2 separate regions of the Homo sapiens genome follow, and region 2 is linked to region 1. The links are contacts of gene promoters, found by promoter capture Hi-C in human tissues and cell types (Jung and others, 2019). All regions are on one chromosome and are shown on one strand. Each heading gives the region's core, a stretch centred on a gene start or on the middle of the fragment in contact. The rest is flanking DNA. Distances are from core to core; before and after follow the strand shown. Region 1 holds the start of PEA15 (proliferation and apoptosis adaptor protein 15). Region 2 overlaps SLAMF6 (SLAM family member 6).

The links. The method cuts DNA at HindIII sites, captures the fragments that hold promoters and counts their contacts. A contact is called where the count stands out against the background at its distance.
Region 2: a fragment that was not itself captured here is called in contact with the fragment with the promoter of PEA15 in region 1 in 1 of the 25 tissues and cell types used here (small bowel).

The regions. Positions count from the first base shown.
Region 1 is chr1:160,203,127-160,207,462 of GRCh38, reverse strand. PEA15 (proliferation and apoptosis adaptor protein 15) reads right to left here and starts at 2,079. Exons shown (of 4, transcript NM_003768.5): 1 at 1,941-2,079. It overlaps PEA15-AS1 (PEA15 antisense RNA 1), which reads left to right. Exons shown (of 5, transcript NR_123725.1): 3 at 1,087-2,125; 4 at 2,329-2,392. RefSeq lists a silencer at 1,964-2,223 and enhancers at 2,374-2,423, 2,774-2,873. The HindIII fragment of the contact is 6,187 bases long and covers 618-4,336 here.
Region 2 is chr1:160,510,281-160,514,616 of GRCh38, reverse strand. The region is part of intron 1 of SLAMF6 (SLAM family member 6); the gene reads left to right. Among named protein-coding and RNA genes, the nearest start is that of SLAMF6, 11 kb to the left of the region's middle. The HindIII fragment of the contact is 3,853 bases long and covers 1-3,806 here.

The sequences.
Region 1 (4,336 bases), core at 830-3,329:
GGCAGAGCAGAGGAGGGCCGGCTGATGGCGAGGAGGGGAATGGGGCCTAGGACTCTCCCCAGCCCATCTCTGTTTCCACTCTTCTGGTGTGGCACTCCCTGCTTCTATTTCTGTCTCTCTCCATCTCTCTCACTCTTTGTCATGCATTTCCTTTCTACTTCATCTTTCAGTCTCTCTTTTCCTCCTTTCTATAGGCTTTCACCCCTTCTAGCATTTCCTACTCACCTATCCAACTTAGTGGTAGCCATGAATACTTAGGACTCCTGAGATCTGTGCTTCACTGTCCCCATCTGAATATTCGGAGCTGCAATTAGGAAGGGGTGAGCATCCCTGCTACAAAAGACAGAGTAAGTTTGGTCGGAGTGGCTTGGAGATTCAGTGGTTGGCTGCCTACCAGCTGGTGAAGATATCCATCATGACATTGTGCGTGAGGATCTGTGTGAGAGAGTGAGGCGCTCTGTGATTCTGTGACCCTCTTCATGCATGATAATACATCCACACATGATGGGCACGGAATTGAGGAAGTAGGCAACCAGGGAAGCCTGCAGCCTAGGGCATCACTGGCAATTTCCCCAATGGAGTATTTAACCACAAAGGGAAGAGCAATTAAAGCTAATCGCTCTGACAGCCTGGGGCCCAGACACACGTACCACTTTCCCTAACTCCCAGTGGTCTCCCCCAACCTTCATCCTCCCTAATTTGTTTAGTGCACTCTCAAACACTGTTTGCACTTCTCTGACCATCTCTTTCTCTCACTTCCTCCCTCTCCCTGGTTCCCTGACTATCTCTAGACCTCTCTGGAGATGTCTGTCTGCTTCTCACACACATTCCTCTCATTCTCTCTCTGACTTGGGTTCCATTCTTGGCTGACTCATACCCATTCTTTTTCCTCTCCGTTTCTTCCACCCCCTCCTCCTCCATCCCTTGGCCACTCTTACCCAGAAACTAGCCACTCCCAGCACGCTAAGCCCTAACTGGACCCAGGAAGAGAAGCCACCAGAAGCCCCTACCCTCATTAGTCCGCAAAATCCTGTCTCCTTGTGTTAGAGGAATGAGACCAAGATTTTCTCCCATCTTTCCCCACAGTTTTAAAGAGGAACAATCTGAAACCATGGGGCTGGGAAAAGCTGCCAGAAAATCAGGATGGATTTGGGGACAGTGGCCCTTTCTGTCCACTCAGCTGTCCTGTCGGACTGATGACTTGGAGCCCGCAGTTCAGAAGACTCCTCATGGGATGCCCCACCCCACAGAGTGGGGGTGTGGTGGGCGGCCGGATGCGTAGTCCAGGGACGTTTGTGATTTGGAGTGTGCTAGACTATGTGTATAAGTCACATGGGTGTGTGTCACTGTGTGTGCTGGCGTGCCTTATAGGTGTGCGTGTTTCCCTGTCAGTTTTGACACGGATTATATGAAATTAATAAGGGTTTTTACGTTAGATATACATCACTTCTCTACACCCCCAGCTCCTCCTTCCCTCTGGACAAGCTTTCCGCCAAGCCCACCTCTTCCCCAGGTGCAGTGAGCTGGGGGTGAGGGCACATGGTACCAGCCGCCCGCGGAACCGAGACAGGGCTGGGCCGGGAGACCGCCAGCGGAGGCGAGTCCGAAGCCTGAGCGGGGAGGGAGGGGCGGGCGCTGGCCTGGCCGAGCCGGCTGGGCGGGAAGCAGGCTGCATCCTAATCCACAGGCCCCGGTCCGACTCCCAAACTGCCGTTCAGCGTGGAACGGGCTGGCCGGAGCCACGCCGCCTCCAGCACACGCTCGGCGCTCGGGACGCACCGACCGAGGGACGGACCCCGTGAGGCCTGACACAAAGTGGACTCGTCCGGGGTCCCCACACTCCCCGTCTGGCCCCCGGTGTCCCAGATCGTTGCCCCTCCAAGCCTAGACCCCGAAATCTGCCCCTTCCCCGCGACATGTCTCCTCTCCGCCCCTCTCACCGCCTCTGGAGCTGAGCGCTCAGGGCGCGGGCACTCCTGAGTCCCCGGTTCCTAAGCAGCGTCCGGAACCTCCTCCTCGGCTCCCGCCGCCGCCGCCGCCGCTTCTGCCGCCGCCGCCGCCTCTTCCGCCCGCGGAGCCGGAGCCCGAGCCCAGCGCCGCTCACTCCACCCGGCTGGCCGGTGATGTCAGAGCCGGGGAGGGGCGGGGGGCGGGGAATGGCGGGAGGAGGGGGAGGGATGGAGAGGCAGGAGGGGGCGGGGGACCGAGGGGCTGGGGTTCTGGAAGACTCCTAGGATGGGGGACAGAATTGGGCGGAGGGCTGGAGCGGAGACGGTCTCTTCCCCCTGAACTGCGAAACAATTCTCATATTTAATTCTTACCCAGTAGGGCACCCTCCTCCCCTTTTGACCTTTGGATGACCACGGTGCCTAGGACCCCTGGGAGGCACAGAGTAGGTTTGGTTTAGGGGGTTGGAAAGCCTTTGGGGGCTGGATTCTCTTAGCTGCTGGCTTTAATATTTGTAAAAACTTCTTGCCTTGCCTTAAGGGTCAGGGGCGCAGTGGAAAATGACTGATCAGACTTATCCACATTGGGAGTGAGGGGTTGGGGCCACATGGGGACTTGAGGAGCCCTGGATCTTCTCTTTCCAGGATGATGCCTTCAGGCCCTCTTGCGTGCCTCTCACCTTTCCCAAACATGCCCCACTCCTGCCTTCCCCCTACCATGATGTAATTTTATTTTCTGGGGAGAAAAAGAGCAGCAGTGAGCTCAGCATGCAAATATAGACAACTTGCAAAGCCACACTTAGCTCCATCTCCTAGCTCTGCCCCTCTGCCCAGGCCCAATGTGGCAGCTCTCACTTCCCCTCTACCCCAGGGACTTTCCTCCCCCAGATTCTCAGCCAGACTGAAAAGAGGAAAGGAAGAATTGGAGAAGCATCTGTTTTCACCCCCATCTCTATAGCCTAAGGGGTCTTGCCTCAGCTCTGGGCAGGGTTTGGCCCTGGAAAGAAGTCTGACCCTGGGTAGGTCCTTCCTGCCAGGAACTCCAGCAGGCCCAGGTTGGGGGATTCCCCTCAGTGTTTGTGCCACTTCCAGGATCACCCATCTCATCTCAGTTCCTACCTGGCAGAGACTCCTCCAGAAACCTCAAACGAGCCCCTCCTTTCTTGGGTCTACACCATTCCTAGAAGAGGCCCAAGTTCCTGCTGCTCTGGGTTTCATAGCATTTCTCTGCTGTTTCCTCTCCCCAGCATTCCCTGTCACACACTAATCATTTGCCTTTGTATATATCATGTTTGCTCTGTGTTGTAGGGACAAAAACTATTTCGTTGACCCATCTTTGAGACTCATGTAGTTTCTAAGTGAAAGGCTCAGGTCTGGAGGCAACAAGACACAGGGGCCTTGGGCTGCGTGCTAGTTCCACCCATTCCTTGGGCAAGTTATGCCTGAAAGCCTTAGTGTCCTCACCGGTCAGATCAGGGTGCCAATGTCTATTTCTGAGGGTTCTTCTGAGATTCAGAAATAGTAAGTCTCTAGGGACTGGCACAGATGGGTGCTTAAAAAATAGGAGCTATTATTTAGACCGGGGCCTTCCACTGACCTATGCTAGACAGTAAGCTCCACAATATTATTGTAAGACTAGCTTAGTGCCCATACTACTTATTAAACATTTATTAAATAGCTACAAGTTGGAATGAATACATAGTTTCTGCTTTCTACACCCCTGCCACATTCTCTAGGAACACTTCCTGGACTTGTCTGTGGAGAGTGAAAATATATCTAATCTCAGGTCTCATCTTTCCGTACTTAGAAATCCTCTAAGTCTCTCAGCAACAACTTTACACCTGATCCATGAAAAATATAATGTTGGCTTGGCGTGGTGGCTCACGCCTGTAATCCCAGCACTTTGGGAGGCTGAGGCAGGTGGATCACCTGAGGTCAGGAGTTCAAGACTAGCCTGACCAACATGGTGAAACCCCATCTCTACTAAAACTACAAAAAAGTTAGCTGAGTGTGGTGGTGGGCACCTGTAGTCCCAGTTACCTGGGAGGCTGAGATAGGAGAATCTCTTGAACCCGGGAGTCGGAGGTTGCAGTGAACCGAGATCTCACCACTGCACTCCAACCTGGCAACAGAGTGAGACTCCATCTCAAAAAAAAAAAAAAAAAAGAAAAAAATATATATATATACACACACATATATATGTATATGTATATATATATAATGTTTATTATTTATGGGCATCATCTCAAAAATATATATATAATGTTTATTATTTATGGGCTTGTTTAGCTATTTGTATATATTATATATATAAAATGTTTATTGTTCATGGGCATCATCTCAAAACTATATATGTATATGTTTATTATTTATGGGCTTATTTAGCTATT
Region 2 (4,336 bases), core at 631-3,130, 310 kb before region 1:
GGAGTGTTTTACTTCCAATTATGTGATCAATTTTAGAGTAAGTTCCATGTGGCAATGCATAGAATGAATATTCTGTTGTTGTAGGATGGAGAGTTTTGTAGAGGTCTATCAGGTCCACTTGATCTAGAGCTGAGTTCAAGTCCTGAATATCTTTGTTAATTTTCTGTCTGAATGATCTGCCTAATATTGACAGTGGATGTTAAAGTCTCCCGCTATTATTGTGTGGGAGTCTACATCTCCTTGTACGTCTCTAAGAGCTTATTTTAGGAATCTGCTTTTGTATTGGGTGCATACATATTTAGGATAGTTAGTTCTTCTTGTTGAATTGAACCCTTTACCATGCCTTTCTTTGTCTTTTTTGGTCTTTATTGCTTTAAAGTCTATTTTGTCAGAAACTAGGATTGCAATCCCTGCTTTTTTCTGGTTTCCATTTGCCTGGTAGATTTTCCTCTATCCCTTTATTTTGAACCTATGTGTGTGTTTGCATGTGAGATGAGTCTCTTGAATACAGCACACCAATGGGTCTTCACAATTTACCCAGCTTGCCATTCTGTGTCTTTTAAATGGGGCACTTAGCACATTTATATTTAAAGTTAGTATTGTTATGTGTGAATTTGATCCTGTCATCATGATACTAGCTAGTTATTTTGCAGACTTATTGATGTAGTTGCTTCACAGTTTCATTGGTCTTCATTGTGTACTTCAGTATGTTTTGTAGTGGCTGATAATGGCTTTTCCTTTCCATATTTAGTGCTTCCTTCAGGAGCTCTTGCAAGTCAAGCCTGGTGGTGGATGAATTCCCTCAGCATTTGATTGTCTGAAAAATATTTTATTTCTCCTTTGCTTATGAAGCTTCATTTGGCCAGATATGAGATTCTGGGTTGAAAATTCTTTTCTTTAAGAATGTTGAATATTGACCCCCAATCTCTTCTGGCTTGTAAAGTTTCTGCTGAGAGGCCTGATGTTATTCTGATGGGCTTCCCTTTGTAGGTGACTTGGCCTTTCTCTCTGGCTGCCCTTAACATTTTTTCCTTCATTTTGACCTTGAAGAATCTAATAATTATGTGTCTTGTGGTTGATCCTCTCATGGAGTATCTTACTGGGTTCTTTGTATTTCTTGAGTTTGAATGTTGGCCTGTCTTGCTAGGTTGGGGAAGTCTCCTGGATGATATCGTGAAGTATGTTTTCCAACTTTGTTTCATTCACCTGTCTCTTTCAGGTACCATAATCAGTTGTAGGTTCGGTCTCTTTACATAATCCCATAATTCTCAGAGATTTTGTTTGTTCCTTTTCATTCCTTTTTCTCTAATCTTGTCTGCCTATTTTATTTCAGCAAGATAGTCTTCAATCTCTTAAATTCTTTCCTCCACTTGGTCTATTCGGCTATTGATACTTATGATTGCATTGTGATGTTTTCATGTTGTGTTTTTCAGTTCCATCAAGTCATTTATGTTCCTCTCTAAGCTGGTTATTCTGATGAATAGCTCCTGTAATGTTTTATCCTGATTCTTAGGTTCTTTGCATTGAGTTAGAACATACTCCTTTAGCTCGGCAAAGTTCATTATTACCCACCTTCTGAAGCCTACTTCTGTCAGTTCATCCTTCTCAGCCTGAGCCCAGTTGTGTGCCCTGCTGGAGAGGTGTTACAATCATTTGGAGGAGAAGAGACACTCTGGCTTTTTGAGTTTTCAGCATTTTTTATTGATTCTTTCTCATCTTCCTGAGTTTATCTAGCTTTGATCTTTGAGTCTGCTGATCTTTGGATGGGCTTTTTGTGGGGACTTTTTTGTTGATGCTGTTGTTGTTGCTTTCTGTTTGTTTTTCTTTTAGCAGACAGGACCCTCTTTTGCAAGACTGCTGCAGTTTGCTGGGGGCCCACTCCAGATCCTATTCACCTGGGTCCCTCCCCACCCTGGTGGTGTCACCAGTGGAGGCTGCAGAACCGCAAAGATGGCTGCCTGCTTCTTCCTCTGGGAGCTCCGTCCAAGAGGGGCACCAAACTGATGACAGTGGGAGTGCTCCTGTATAAAGTGTCTGGTAACCCCTGCTGGGGAGTCTCACCCAGTCAGGAGTCACAAGATAAGGGACCCACTTAATGAAGCATTCTGTCTGTCCCTTGGCAGAAAGGATGTGCTGTGGTGGGGGGGATCCTACTTATCCAGACTGCCCAGATTCCTCAGAGCCAGCAGGGGAAAAGACTAAGTCTGATGATCCACAGAGTCCGCAGCCCCAGTACCCACAGGGACTCAATCCCAGGGAGATCAGGGTTCTGTCCATAAACCCTTGGCTGGAGTTGCTGAAATTCCCACAGGGAGGTCCCATTCAGTGAGGAGGGATGAGTCTGGGTCCAGCCTAAAGATGCAGTCTGGCCACAGTCTGCCACAGCTGCTGTGCTGCACCATGGGGAATTCCTCCTGGTTCCAAACCACCAGTCCCTCTGGCACTGGCAGGGGAAAGCAGCAGACAGAAGCTGCAGTGATGGCTGCTGCCCCTTCCCCCAAGAACTCAGTAGTCTTAGACGGTCTCCAGCCAAGTGGCAGCTGAGAATCTGCACAGCTCTGTGCTTGGGATCCAAGGCCCTTGTGGTGTTGGCTCACGAGGGGATCTCCTGGTCCATGGGTTGCACAGATCCATGGAAAAAGCATGGTTTCCTGGGTGGGGTAGCACAATCACTCACCACTTCCCTTGGCTGGGGGTGGGAGCACCCCTTGCCCCATCAGCTTCCAGGTGGGCTGTTGTTCCACCCTGTTTTCCTCACTCCCTGTGGGTCATGCCAACCACCTAGTCAGTCCCAATGAGTGAGCCTGGATACCTTAGTTGCTGGTGCAGGATTCACTCACTGTTTTCGTTCTTCTCAGTGGGATCCTCCAACCACAGCTGTTTCTAGTTAGTCATCTTGGCCCCTCCCCACATTTTATCTTTTCTTACTTATGCTTTTGGTGTCATATATCAGAATCCATTCCCAAATCAAAAATCATGAATATTTATCATTATGTTTTCTTCTAAGAGTTTTAGCTCTTATATTTAGGTGATCGATACATTTTGAGATAATTTTTGCATATAATGAGAGGAAGGGGCCCAACTTCATTCTGTTGAATGTGGATATCCAGTTGTCCCAGCACCATTTGTTAAAGAGAGCATTCTCTCCCTATTGAATGATCTTAGCACTCTTGTCAAAAATCACCTGGCCATAAATGTTTGGGTTTATTTATGGACTCTCAATTTAATTTCATATAGACATCTATAAGTTTATCTTTATGCCAGTACCACACTGTTTTGATTACCATATCTGTATCAGTTTTGAAATTGGAAAGTGTGAGTCCACCAATTTTGCTTTTCTTTTACAATATTGTTTTGGCTACTTGGGGCATCTTGAAATCACATATAAATTTGAGAATTAGCTTTTCCATTTATGAAAAAAAATCAACATTTTGATAAGGATTGCATTGACTCTATAAATTGCTTTTGGTGGTATCGGCATATTAATATTATCTTCCAATTAATGAACATAGGATGTATTTCCATTTATTTAGATTTTCTTTCTTTCAGAAATGTTATTTAGTTTTCAGTGTATTATCTTGAACTTCTCTGGTTAAATTATTGCCAGGTATTTTGTTCTTTTGAATGCTACTGTACATGGAACTGCTTTTCTTAACTTCTTTTTCAGATTGTTCATTGCTAGTGTGTAGGAACAGAACTGATTTTTATACATTGATTTTGTATCTTGCAACTTTGCTGAATTTATTTATTAGCTCTGATCATTTTTGTGGATTCTTTAGGATTTTCTATTTTCAACATCATGTTATCTGTGAATAGGAATAGTTTTACACATTCTTTTTCAATTGAGATGCATTTTATTTATTTTTCTTGCCTAATTGCTCTGGCTAGAACTTCCAGTTCAATATTAAATAGAAGTGGTGAGACTGGGCACTGTTGCCTTTTCATGCTGTTATTTGAAAGGCTTTTAGTCTTTTATCCTTGAGTAAAATGTTAGCTGTGGGTTTTCATAAATGCCTTTTATCAGACTGAGGAAGTTCCCTTCTATTTCTAGATTCTAAAGTGTTTTTATTTAAAAGGTGCTGGTTTTTTTCAAATGTTTTTTCTGCATCAACTAAGATGGCCATTAGTCTATTTTTCTTCATTCTGTTAATATCATATACTGCATTGATTGGTTTTCATGTATTGAACCACTTTTGCATTGCTGAGATAAATTCTACTTGGTCATGGTGTATAATCCCTTTAATATGAGCTGGATTCAGTTTGTTAGTATTCTGTTGAAAGTTTTTGCATCAATATTCATAAGGGATATCAGTCTGTAGTTTTCTTTTTTCTGATA